3 separate regions of the Homo sapiens genome follow, and regions 1 and 3 are each linked to region 2. Evidence: promoter capture Hi-C in 16 types of primary human blood cells and fetal thymus (Javierre and others, 2016). All regions are on one chromosome and are shown on one strand. Each heading gives the region's core, a stretch centred on a gene start or on the middle of the fragment in contact. The rest is flanking DNA. Distances are from core to core; before and after follow the strand shown. Region 1 holds the start of IRX6 (iroquois homeobox 6). Region 2 overlaps FTO (FTO alpha-ketoglutarate dependent dioxygenase). Region 3 holds the start of MMP2 (matrix metallopeptidase 2).

Region 1 (4,487 bases), core at 1,914-4,413, 1.4 Mb after region 2:
CAGTCACTAAAAAATCCATACTTAAAAAATATAATTTAGCACATCTTCAACTCTGTTATTATGTTCGTGTACTCGCTCATTCCATCTGGGATTTGAGGCATTTGAAGTTGATTTGGGGCATTTCCAGGTTGTTATATTTCCCCCTGTAAAATCTGCTGTCTTTATAAATCATTAGAAAATCATAGACTTTTTTAACCCAAAATAATGAAATACAGTTTGTTTTTCCTCTTTTATTGTTTGTTTGTTTTTTGTGGTACCTGCATGCAAGCTTATTGTGAAACATACATACTTTACTCCGCCTGCTCAGGAACTTCAGTGCATTTGAAGCAAAGCAATAAGAGCTTCAAATAAACAATGTGGATTAGTACTCTCTGGTACACATAGGCTTTTGATTGTTTAATTTGTTTCACATTTGTTTTAATGAGCAGCTAGAGGAACTATCAGGCATGTTGCACAGTACAACAAAAGAATCTCTATCATTTGTTTAAAATACTTTAGGTGGAATGACTCCCTTAAATATAACTGGGAGGGTCTATATTTGATGGATTTATTTACTTGCTTCAATAAAATTCTATGTGTACACATATACAATTGGGGCTTTTTCTCCGAAACTAAATTAATCAGTGCTGAACAAAGCAATGAAAAGCTGCCGGGGTGGAGAAGCCCAAGGCTGCTGAAGTGGGAGTCTGTGAACCGTCAGGAGGACAAAAGCAAATTCCACTGCAGCTTCCCCTCAATCAGATTTTCCAAGAAACAGACATCTTCTCACCTGAGGTTTCTGCCAGACAGAGGTTGATATTGGCTTAACCCACTGGCATTGTTTTGTTACGAGGGTCCCAAAATAACAAGAAGAGTAGGCACATTTCATAAAAACCATTTTTAGGAAACCCCATTAAATGCTCAAGGTGGTAACAATCAAATGTCAGCAAAACAGGGGAGGTTTACCGTGGGTGCAGCCTCTCCCTGGGAAGGAAATGTTAAATCAAGGTCTTGCAAGGCTGGGAAGCCGGAGGAGACATGGCAGGCCTTCCTCCCTGGGAAGTATTCTGATAGAAGCTGCAAAAAACCATCAAGCAACTTTGAGGACAATAGAAAAGGTGTCTTAACATAAAACCTGCTCTTTTGTTTGTTCGCTTGTCTTTCCAGAAGAAGAAAAATGCCAAGATATCTTCATAGTCCTACTTCCCAATTTTCTTCCCCACTGTTCCTCAACATCCTCTTTTCTTTTTAAAAAATTGTGTTGCTTTTCTCAAATCCTAGAGAGCAAAGACAAGAAGTAGGCCTGGAGGCCCTGCACACAGCATTGATAAAACAGAGGTCTTATAAATCAGCTAAAAATCAATAATTCCTATATGGTAGTTTCTCCTTTGCAACCATATCGCCAAGGGACAGGGCTAATGCTTTTTCTCCACCACCAGCCCCATTTTTCTGTCATAAAATTTTTAAAAAAAATTCTGCTTAGGAACAAATGGGCAATCGAAGTTGCTGAGTCAGTATTTCTACTATCTAATTTTATTACTTTACAATTGACATACCTTCCCTCTGGAAATGTTTGCAATTAATTAATTAGCAGTAATCTTCCCCAAGGGATGAATTTAATGAATACTCTCCAATTCTTACTTTAAAAAAATAGCATAGATGTATCCAAGCTGCAAATGTGTGGATAGTTCCAAAGTGCATTTTGAAAAATCAAGGGATCTATCTATTACTGTGAATTTTTATCACTAAGTCAATCTGGTGAGGACTATAATTCTTTTTCTAACTAGGAGTTTCCCTGGATGAACGCAAGGTTTCTCCAAGGTAACAGCAGCAGCAGCAGCAGCAGTAGCTGTGTTTGTTAGTATTTAGAATGGAGCTTGTCCTCATGTTAACAATCTCTTAAGCAGAGGAGTCTCTGGTTTGTGGCTTAAGCTCCTTGAGCATTCTGCAGAATGTGTTTTTAAAACGGGGTGTGGGGACCTAGAGATGTCATGCTAAAGAGATCAGTGTAAGGTGCTAGTGGCAAACTTGGAGTTGAGGTACGCCCCGTCCAGGACCCCAGACCTTGCCCCGCCTCATACAAGAACCCAGAGCCGTTGCTATCTTCTGGGCCACAGGCTCTCGCGTTTCAACTAGAAAATAAAACTGGGCCCTTGAACCAACCCCTATGGCTCCTTGGAGGAGTTGCAGCAAGAGCCTGGTGCAACTTTAAAAGTATAAAGCGCTTTTAAAAGTATAAAGCGCGGTGACCCCGGTAAGTGAAAGGCAAGGCTTTCTGAGGTTTCTGGCCTGCAAATCCCACTGGATTCCTGCAGTGCCCACCGAAGACCTTCCCCTACCAGACCGACAGTCCCTTTTCACCCCTAGACGTCGCGGGTTGGAGGCTCTCAGAAGGGCAGCTGGGGCCAGAGTACTGAGCCTTCAGATGTGCAGTCTACCGTGCTCGCAAATTGGAGGTTCCATGTCTCGGGGCCAGGCCTAGAGGAGGCAGCCCCTTCCTGGGTACCAACGAGCCTCCCCCACCCCTGCCGCCGCCCACCCATCAGTGCCCCTTTGAAGACCCCTGGGATGGAGTGAGGGGGTGGTCAGACCGCTGGGCCCAGCCGGGCGTCCAGGAGGAGCGCAGGGAATGGGCCGCCCTCCCGGAGCGCTCCACTGCGGCTCTCCAGCGCCACCCCCAGCGGAGCGCAGGGGCTGCAGCCCGGACCGGGAGCCTTCTTCAGGCTCCCTGGCTGCCCCGCGGCCACTGCGGGAGGCGCGCGCGCGAGGCAGCCAAGCCTTGCCTTCGGAGGAGATGCCCAGGGATCTTAGCAAGCAGCCTGCGGCTGCCAGGGATCGGACCTGGCGAGTTTCCCGACGGAATCTGAGGGATCCCGAACCTCGGCCTCGAGGGGGCGCTATCCGGCCTACTCGAGGACCAGGCAGCTGCAGAGAAGCTCCAAGGTCAAGGCCCTGGGCCAGGCCAGGGCTTGGAGAGCCGGAATCTAGCCCGAGTCCTGGGGAGGCTGAGGCGGGGAACCAGATCCCCGAGGACAAAGATGGGCGGGCCAGTGGGATCCACCGACGCTGCCCGGAGCTGCTCCAACGAGAGCCGGGCCTGTGGCGTGAACAAACTTTACTTCAGCGCAGGGGCGGAGGAACCGGGCTGGAGGCTTCTCCCCCGGGCCTCTGCTCTCCTCCACCTGCCAGTGCTCAGCCTCCGCCCAGCCTTCGCCCACCCCAGCTCCCTCCCCCTCCCCCACGCGCCTCTGTTCACTCAGACTCCTGTCTCCCCTCTCCCCTCCTCCTTCTCCCTCTTGCCTTTCTCCCCCACTTTTCTCCTGTCTCTTCTTTTGTATTCTCTCCTCCCTCGCCGCCCCGGTTGCCTCTCGCCTCCTCCGGGCCGCAGGGGAGGAGGTGAGCGCGCTGCGCCCGGGGCCTGCGCGGCTCAGAGGGAGGCGTTTCTCCTACTTCTCCCGGGTAATTTGGAGAGGTTGTGTGTGTGTGCGCGCGCGCGTGAGCTCCAGGCGAAAAGGGGTAGGATTCAGCGCCGAGCAGAGAGGGTCAGGGTTTTTGACGTTCCTCGCCAGCTGCACAAACCTCCCGGAGCAAGTGTGAGTGTGGGTGAGAGTGCGCGCGCGCGCACGGGCTGGCTGCGCTTGGCACGCTTGGTGGCCCAGGGTCCCGGGGCCCGGGGTCCCGTCTGGCGGCCCGGGATTACCGTGACGTCACATTGAGCCTCTGGCCACCTTGGACTGGGACACCTCCGGAGCCTCACAGCCCCGCGCCGCGCCGCGCCTCACCTCGCCACCACGCGCCTTTGGGAACCCGCATCTTCTTCCTTCCCCTGCCCATCCATGGGCCCTTCTGTCTTCCGGACCCCACGGGCCGGAGGGGCGCCTTCCGGAGCGCAGGGCTCGGCAGCCGGGCTGCCCTCGGCTCTGCCTCCACTGGGGCCAACCAGGCGAAGGAACCGGCGCTGGGCATCCGCAGCGGTGTAAGGAACTGAGACACCTCACTGCTGGGGGCGCGGAACAGCTGGGCTGAGACGGGAACTCGACAGGGAAGAGAGAGACGGGCCAGGGACAGCCACCATGTCCTTCCCACACTTTGGACACCCGTACCGCGGCGCTTCCCAGGTAAGAGGCGCCTCTATGGGGGATAGGGGACAGACTGGGTGGAGGGAGTGCCTAGTGCACGGCGCCTGCCTCTGATCATCCTCCTCTTGTGTTCTGGGGGAAGCCAGAAGGAGCAAGGACCAGGGTAATGTGTCACAGCCTCCTCTGACATCCCCAGTCCCTAAATGAGAACGTTTCACCCCGGAGTGCACGCTGGAAAATCTTGTGACCTGAAACATGAGCACTCTGACCACGCGCTCAGTGAGGTGGGTGGGATCACAGGGATCTCCCAGTCAGGCCTCCTCCTATACAGAAGTCTGAGGTGGCCGGGAGAGAAAGAAAGAAAGAAAAGAAAGAAAGAAATAAGGAAGGAAGGAAGGAAGGAAGGAAGGAAGGAAGGAAGGAAGGAAG
Region 2 (4,247 bases), core at 1,634-4,133:
CCAAAATAAAGTCATTCAGTTGAGATAAAGATACACAGTTCTCTTTTCTGAGCTTTGTTATAAAGTAATCACTTGTTATAAAATTTACATTTCAAGTTGCAGTGGGTCATATTTGGGAAGTAGCCGTGGGATGCCAGTTTTCTGAGGAACACCATCCTAGGGAATCCGTAACATAAATTCTCCTTCAATTATCCGTACCGTGGTTCCCATTTACTTTTCCAAGACCTGCGTCACTTTAAAGGTCTTCATTTGAAGGAAGGCTTAAATTCAGGCCACATTATATTGACAAATCTCTCTGAAGAGAGAATGGGCAAAGCCATACCTATCTCATAGGTGTTGGGGGATTACCTGTGATAATGCACTCAAGTACTTCATAAATGCTGGGTTTTGTTGTTGGGAGTGATCTGTCAGTCATGCGTTGGTTCTGCAAATATTTCTTAAGTGCCTACCTGGTATGAGGAGCTATCTTAGGTCCTGAGGTTGTAGAGATGAGTAACATTTGATTAGGGGAAATGTATTACACAATGTAGAATCATAAATACTATGGAAGAGATTGAGTCATGATTCCATAGAAACCCACATCCCAGGGAAGAAGACAGGCTCTCCTTAAGTGTTCTCATAAGACTCTCATTATGTGCCCAGCGACAGTGAGAAATACTGCTCCATTCCCCAATTGTGTTGGCTACCAGTAGATAGGTAGCTATTTGTCTCAAAGCATGAGTGAGAAATAGGAGAGAAATTTATACGTGAGGATAGGTCATTGTATAAAAGTTGTGCTACCTTCTTTCCATTGTATAAAGTTTGTGGAGGAAAAATGGTTTTCTTTCAGAGTAAATTTAATTAATATGTTTGGGGGCATAGATTCTGAATCAGATTGCCTGGGTTTGAATCTTGGATCCACTTCTATAACTCCAGGCAAGTTACAATTGTGGATTGTAACTAGATGAGTTACTTAACCCCTCTGAGCCTCAATTTTCTCGTTTGTTATTTGCCTAGGGGATGATAATAATAGAACCCATTTCATAGGGTTGATTAAGTGATTAAATGTAAAACACCCAGAGCAAGTACCTGTAACGTATTAGGTGTTCAATAAAAATGACCTATCATGATCTTCAGATCAAAACAATAAAGCCAGGAATAAACCCAGCCACCCTTATCCAAATTGGCCTCTCCTTTGAGAGAATGCCTCATGAAGTAAATATCCTAGCCTCCTGGTAGGGGCCTGATATTGCAAAATTGGTGCAGGGAAGAACACTAGACAGAGTTGGTGCTCTGTGCTCAGCAGTGTCACACAGAATTGACAGGTGGAGGGCTGGACTCCAGTTTGAATCCCATCATTAGTGACTATAGGACTCTGGGCATGTCACAGACACTCTACGCCTTAGCAACTTTATGTAAGAAAGAAGCGACTTGATCTCGATCGCCCCAAAAGTGGGAGGCATCTTCCAGCTCTCACAAGGAGTGGCTCCATACGTGAGATCCCCGGGAGCAGGGAAAAGTGGATGTTACTCCTGATGGGTTTCACTCCTCTACTTCCACTTTCCCTGAAGTCTGCAATTGTACTAATTTTAACAACAATAGCAGCTGACATTTATTGAGAAGTCACTGTGTTCCAGACAGAGTTTTAAATGTTTTATATGATGAGAAAACCGAGGCACAGAGGTGCAGAGTAACTTGCCCAAGGCAACAGCTAGTAAGTAGTGAAGATGGAATTTAAGCCAAGACGGCCCAGGTTGGCCAAGAGCAATAACAAAGCTTTAGTTTTTAATCAACCACTGATACGATTCACTTAGTATTTTAGAGACCTTCTAGGATCCTTCTCAGTGTGGAGATAGGCAGGTATGTATCTTTACATATTTATTTCCTCTGGTACCTAACATGTTTTACACTTTTTAGTTGTGGGTGCATCTCTATAAGGAAATAGTATCCAGCTAATGCATTATCAATCTCCCTGCCATGGATCTTTTAAAGGAAAGTTATCACCTTTATATGCTCTGTCATTTCTTTTATATTGGTTACAGTCTTTTAGAAGGTGGGAGAGTAGGGGTGAAAATTAGAACACCAAAGTTTAGCCTCCAAGAATCTGTAAATCTCTGTAAATCCTCTAAGTCAAGTAATTTTGGGGCTGCGTTAGTCAAGGCTGATTTCAGTGGGTGCCCTTAAGGTGAAAGGGTAGCAATTTATCTACTCCATAATGGGTTAATCACCAGCTGTACAGTTTGTTTATATCTAGGAAACAATTTACCACACATGAAGAGTAGTAATTTTATTCTATCTCAGGGGTATCCCCAGTGTATTTTACAAATTTACTCTGTAATGTTATAGATAAAAGTTTAACTCTGGCTTTCAGTTGAGGAAGTCATGGTGGAGGAGGATGGGGGAAGGGGAAGGAACAGCTCTACTGGCCTGTAGGGGACACTGTTGCATCATTTATTAGAATTTTCCAGTCTATTGTCCCAGGACAAAAAAAACAAAACCAAACAAATCAGAAAACAAAAAAAAATAGTTGAATCACCTTGAAAATGCTTATTAGAATTATTTGAATCGTTCCAATGTGTTTAGAATGTTCAGGACTTCTCAGGTATTGGTCAGACTGTTCAGTATCCATGCGTGAAAGAAATAGGTTAGTGGTTCTTTCTGAGACAGGAGTGTTTGATGGGACTCTTCTGATTACCTTTCTCTCCATAGTCAACTTTGGATAGGGTGCTCAGGACGTTACTTTTTAGTTTAATAAACCTTTAGGTTTAGTTAACCATCTTCATTTTTTATTAAGATATGCTCATATTAAGTTGTTTTGCTTCCAGAATGTATGCTAAATAAATGTCCCAATCCTTGGAAGGGCGTTTTGGAAGTTCCTATTGTCTTCTTTTTATTCTTATATTTTTTTTCACTGAAAAAGTTGCTGTTTACTGAAAAAATGAAGTCATATCTACAAGGAAGGCTTATGTAGGGCCTGGTCTGAACTCCAGGAAGCATATGACCAGATGCTGTGCTACGGCTCTCTTTCCAGACTGTTGACAGCCATTGTATCTGTCCAGGTACCCCATGGCCTGGCCAGCAAAACCTCCACCCCTCTGCCCAGCTCTGGCCTCTTTCCTACCAGAATACGGGCCTGGGAGGCAACTGCAATGAACCCTCGGAAAGCATAGGTTTTGCTAAGGCAGCCTGCACAGTAATGATATTGTTAGCTTGCTTCATTTCCAGTTTCACCATCAATTACGCCATGTGTTTCATCCAGTTGGTGCTACCCTCCCAGTGTTAATTATAACCTACAAGACTGTTACAGTTAATTTTATGGCAAGCATATTGTCTCTTCAAGGCTCCAGAGCAGCTCATAAATTATCTTGAAGGTAAAATGTAACTTGGGGAACTAGTTATGAAAATTCCATCCATCTCGCTTAGGAGCTGCAGCTGCTACTGTCAGCTGCCTTGCTGCTGCACTGTGAAGGAATTATGGTGGGTCAAGTTTAAGAGGGTAGGCCCAGGCTGTCACTGAGGAGAAAGGCTGTCCTGGCCCTGTCAGACAAGTACCTTCTGCCAATCCCTGGTGGTTTCACTTTGCAGGCAGGAAGAGGCAGGCAGCGCAGGTGGATGGTCCCCAAGCTGTCTGTATTCATTACTTTACAGAAACTTGTTGTAGGTAGGCAGGTCCAGAGACCTTTCCTCTTCTCTGTTGTCATGATGTTAGGCATCATCTGCAAAGTGTGAGATAGATAACTCTATAACTAACTCTGGGCTTGGTTCAGGAGAGGAGGAGAATAAGGGGGCGGAAGCTATTAGTGGCAGCACTTCCCAGCCACCCCTTACTGGTCTCCTACTTGGTAATTTCTATCTTGCAAAAGCCCCTGGCTTGAACGAGCATTTTATTTGTGGTGGTGATTTTTCATATAATCTGATAAAGCGAGATTTCACTGTGGACGAATGTACTCGAAAATTGCCTACTAAATAAATTAACAGGTTATCTTATTGGGATAATAAACACACTCCTTTTCTATTTCCTCACACGAAGTCTAAGCTTTACATTTCAGCCCTCGGGGCTTTAGCATTATTATTTTTAATGACTGAACACAAGTCTTTCATTTAGCTTGTTTGTATAGTTACTGTAAATGATCTTTCTGCTGTTGGTACTTCATTTGAAATTCTGCATGTTATGCTAGCTTTAAAAGCTTTGAGGGGGCCTTGGAGAATTGGGAAGCTGTATTAAGCACAGCATCTTCTAGTGGCATTGGAAACGGGCTATGGCAGAA
Region 3 (4,392 bases), core at 1,179-3,678, 1.5 Mb after region 2:
GCACAGAAGCCTCTCTCTCACTGAGTGCTGCTTCTGCAGCCATTGCCATCTCTGAATGGGCACCAAGCCCCACACTGGAAACCGATACCCTTGGAATGCCAAAACCACAGAGGCTGTGAAGAGGTACAGTCAAAGCTGCCCTCTGCCAGAGGAGCTCCAAAGCATGTTATGCAGACTCCAGAGACTTTCTGAAAAGGTTAAAACTCAAATTGGGCAAGTGTAAATGAACAACACCTAGTGAAGGGAGTCACATACAAGGCAATACAATAGAGAGTGGTGAGGACTGTGGCAAACCAAAGTATGTGCCTCATCTAAAGGGAGCAGTCACTACTCAACTTCAGCAAATTATTGCCATATGGAAACTGGCATCCAGTATTGCCAGATTTTTGGGAAATTTTTTTAAAAAAAGAAAACCAGAAAGTCAGATTTTTACATGAAGTTTCCCAAATTTCAAAATGCTGTTCAGGCTGGATTTAGCCCACAGGCCACGAGTTTGCAGCCCCTGCTTTAGTGAGATAACTTTTTCCATTTTCACTCTCAGCTCTCAGCTCTCCAACTTGGCTCTCTGGCTATCCACAGGACGTGGACATGAGCCCAGTGGGGCTGGGCCAGGAGGCAATCCCCCTTCCCAACTGACCTCAGTCTCGCCCTCTCCAAAACAGCCAAGGTTTGTCACTGGGTCAGGCTGAAGGGCCTGGCTCCCTCCTGCGGGGCAAGGTCCCTCCCAAGAGGGTCCTTTAAAACTGACTCTGGAAAGTCAGAGCACACACCCACCAGACAAGCCTGAACTTGTCTGAAGCCCACTGAGACCCAAGCCGCAGAGACTTTTCTAGCTGTGATGATCAAGACATAATCGTGACCTCCAATGCCCCCCACAAGTATATTGCTCCTGATTCTTTCAGCCCCTGACCTTACTTCTCAAACTGTTCCCTGCTGACCCCCAGTCCTATCTGCCCCCTTCCTAGGCTGGTCCTTACTGACCCCTCCAGCTCCATCCCCTCACCCTGTGCCCCACCTTTTTCAGATAGAAAAAACTTTCTTCTCCAGTGCCTCTTGCTGTTTTTCATCTCTGGGCCATTGTCAATGTTCCCTAAAACATTCCCCATATTCCCCACCCAGCACTCCACCTCTTTAGCTCTTCAGGTCTCAGCTCAGAAGTCACTTCTTCCAGGAAGCCTTCCTTGATTGTCTTTACTAGTTTAGGGGCTGAAGTCAGGCGTTCCCAACAGCCTGCTGGAGTTCCCCATCACAGCTTATCTCTCAACTGTCTTTCCTGAGAGAGGGAGAAGACATTCCTCAGAGACGGTTGTCACAGGGAGAACTTCAAAATTGGGATTCGACCTGAGAGGCCACATGGATTCTTGGCTTGGCGCAGGAAAGGATTCAAGAGTGAGTGGGGAATTCGTGGAACTGAGGGCTCCTCCCCTTTTTAGACCATATAGGGTAAACCTCCCCACATTGCCATGGCATTTATAAACTGCCATGGCACTGGTGGGTGCTTCCTTTAACATGCTAATGCATTATAATTAGCGTAAAATGAGCAGTGAGGATGACCAGAGGTCGCTTTCTTTGCCATCTTGGTTTTGGCTGGCTTCTTCACTGCATACTGTTTTATCAGTGGGGTCTTTGTGACCTCTATCTTATTAAACCAGTCTTGCCCAATTTCTATCTCATCCTGTGACCGAGAATGCGGACCCTCCTGGGAGTGCAGCCCAGCAGGTCTCAGCCTCATTTTACCCAGCCCCCTGTTCAAGATGGAGTCGCTCTGGTTCCAACGTCTCTAACGCGGGGCCCCTGACTGCTCTATTTCCCAAGGTGTATCTAGCATCTCGCACTATACGAGGCCAAGTTAAGGCTTACACATTTGCAGAAGGAAAGAGGTAAGGAAGCAACCTGGGACCTTCCACTGTCTCTGTTTCCATCTCTCTCTTTCCATCTCTGTTCATCCCAGAATCTCTCTGTCCCTATCCCTAAATATCGAAAATTTCTGTCTCTGACCATCTATCATTGTGGCTGATCATCTGTTTCTGACCATTCCTTCCCGTTCCTGACCCCAGGGAGTGCAGGGTGTCCTAGCCAAGCCGGCGTCCCTCCTAGTAGTACCGCTGCTCTCTAACCTCAGGACGTCAAGGGCCTAGAGCGACAGATGTTTCCCAGCAGGGGGTTCTGAGGCTGTGCGCCCAGATCGCGAGAGAGGCAAGTGGGGTGACGAGGTCGTGCACTGAGGGTGGACGTAGAGGCCAGGAGTAGCAGGCGGCCGGGGAAAAGAGGTGGAGAAAGGAAAAAAGAGGAGAAAAGTGGAGGAGGGCGAGTAGGGGGGTGGGGCAGAGAGGGGCGGGCCCGAGTGCGCCCCCCGCCCCCAGCCCCGCTCTGCCAGCTCCCTCCCAGCCCAGCCGGCTACATCTGGCGGCTGCCCTCCCTTGTTTCCGCTGCATCCAGACTTCCTCAGGCGGTGGCTGGAGGCTGCGCATCTGGGGCTTTAAACATACAAAGGGATTGCCAGGACCTGCGGCGGCGGCGGCGGCGGCGGGGGCTGGGGCGCGGGGGCCGGACCATGAGCCGCTGAGCCGGGCAAACCCCAGGCCACCGAGCCAGCGGACCCTCGGAGCGCAGCCCTGCGCCGCGGAGCAGGCTCCAACCAGGCGGCGAGGCGGCCACACGCACCGAGCCAGCGACCCCCGGGCGACGCGCGGGGCCAGGGAGCGCTACGATGGAGGCGCTAATGGCCCGGGGCGCGCTCACGGGTCCCCTGAGGGCGCTCTGTCTCCTGGGCTGCCTGCTGAGCCACGCCGCCGCCGCGCCGTCGCCCATCATCAAGTTCCCCGGCGATGTCGCCCCCAAAACGGACAAAGAGTTGGCAGTGGTGAGTTGCTGCGCTGGCCTCAAGGAACCACGTTTAGACAAACTTCGGAGGCAAAGGATGGGGGTGTCTCTCCCCCTGCCCTCGGCGGTGGGCACACAGCGTGGGGGAGGGGCTTCGGTAAACAGCTTGGGGGGTCTTTGGCAAGCTATTGGAGTGATCTCTTGCAAACGGTGGGGGATCTTTTGTAAGCAAAGAAAACCTTTGATAAACAATTTGGCAACCTTCAGCATACAGCAGTGGGGCGAAAAACAAGCCAGAGAGTGGGAGAGGGGTGACCTGGCAAACTACTGGAAAGGGACTCTTATGTAAATAGCGGGGACATCCTCTAGTATCTGGGACATTTGGCGGGGGGGGGGGGCGGTCTTTGTAAACAACTTTTGGACACATCTGGGCAGTTGCTAAGGGCTCTTGCCAAGCGTCTAGGTAAGCCTTTGGCAAACAGCTACAGGGGTCGTTTTTGCTAATGTAGGACTTTGGGAACGGTGCTCTGGCACACAATTTGGGTAAACTTATGCGCGCATAAGGATGGGAGGGAGCTTGGTCAAAGCGGGGCTTGGCAAATTTCTAGGAACCTTCGGCACAGATCCGGAGAGGGACCTTTAAACAAACAGCTCGAGGGGGCCATTTGGGAAGTGATTGGGGCAGGAGGGAAGCAGAGAGCGCATCTTTTTTCTCCTGGCTTAATGGACAAATTGGTCAAGGGCTGGGCCTCGGAAAGTTTCCTCGAACTTCTCCAAAGGGTCGGAGAAAAGAAGGAGAGAGCTGGCCCGGCAGGAGGGAGGAGGAGTGGGGCAGGCGCTGGAGGGCCCGGCGCGTGGGGCGGGGGCGGACTGCGCTCCGCTCGGGTCGGAGAGCGGCCAGAGAGCCCTCCTTCCTGGCTGGGCTCCCAAACCGCGGTTCAGATGTTGTCTTGTGAGCGTGCGCGCGCCTGGCTGGAGGGGCACTGAGCCTGGCCGCAGTGTTGCGTAAGTAGGGCCTGAGGAGAGAGGCAGGCCAGGGACCCATCAAGATGTCCTTTCCAGTCCAGGGGATATCTGCTCCCTTGTTGCTTCAGCCACCCTGCCCTCCAGCCTCCCCCTCAACCTGTCCGGGAGAAGACGCCCATGCCCTCTGGTCACCCTAGGAACTCCTTCAGGAGGTGACAACTACCCTCTCCCAACTCTCACCCTTCCAAACAGCTAGGTCTCAGCCCCCTCTGGATAGATGGGTTGGGAAACCTCCATACATTTTTAGAGGGCTACTTTTTTCAAGGATCTGGAGCTGGCTGGCATAATGATGTGGCTGTTGGGTGGGGGTGAGAGTGGAGCTTTGGGACAATGACAAAGCTACTTGGTTTCCTACACCTTTTCCAGCCAATGGGTCACAGGATGAACCCCTAAATTGGGGTTCAGCCTGGGGGCCACATGGGTTCTTGGCTTGCACAGGAAGGAATTCAAGAGCGAGCCAACAGAGTAAAGTGAAAACAAATTTATTAAGAAGGTAAAGGAATAAAAGGGTGATTATTCCATAGACAGAGCAGGGAATGGGCT

The links. The method cuts DNA at HindIII sites, captures the fragments that hold promoters and counts their contacts. A CHiCAGO score of 5 or more calls a contact.
Region 1: a contact is called between the fragment with the promoter of IRX6 here and a fragment that was not itself captured in region 2, in 1 of 17 cell types (M1 macrophages). The highest score is 5.6, in M1 macrophages.
Region 3: the fragment with the promoter of MMP2 here is called in contact with a fragment that was not itself captured in region 2 in 2 of 17 cell types (M2 macrophages and monocytes); the score reaches 5.9 in M2 macrophages.

The regions. Positions count from the first base shown.
Region 1 is chr16:55,321,040-55,325,526 of GRCh38, forward strand. It overlaps IRX6 (iroquois homeobox 6), which reads left to right and starts at 3,164. Exons shown (of 6, transcript NM_024335.3): 1 at 3,164-4,097. The coding sequence starts at 4,053. The HindIII fragment of the contact is 7,317 bases long and covers 267-4,487 here.
Region 2 is chr16:53,943,704-53,947,950 of GRCh38, forward strand. All of the region lies in intron 8 of FTO (FTO alpha-ketoglutarate dependent dioxygenase), which reads left to right. Among named protein-coding and RNA genes, the nearest start is that of FTO-IT1, 94 kb to the right of the region's middle. RefSeq lists an enhancer at 2,254-2,548. The HindIII fragment of the contact is 2,260 bases long and covers 1,754-4,013 here.
Region 3 is chr16:55,476,770-55,481,161 of GRCh38, forward strand. MMP2 (matrix metallopeptidase 2) reads left to right here and starts at 2,429. Exons shown (of 13, transcript NM_004530.6): 1 at 2,429-2,863. The coding sequence starts at 2,711. The HindIII fragment of the contact is 12,132 bases long and covers 1-4,392 here.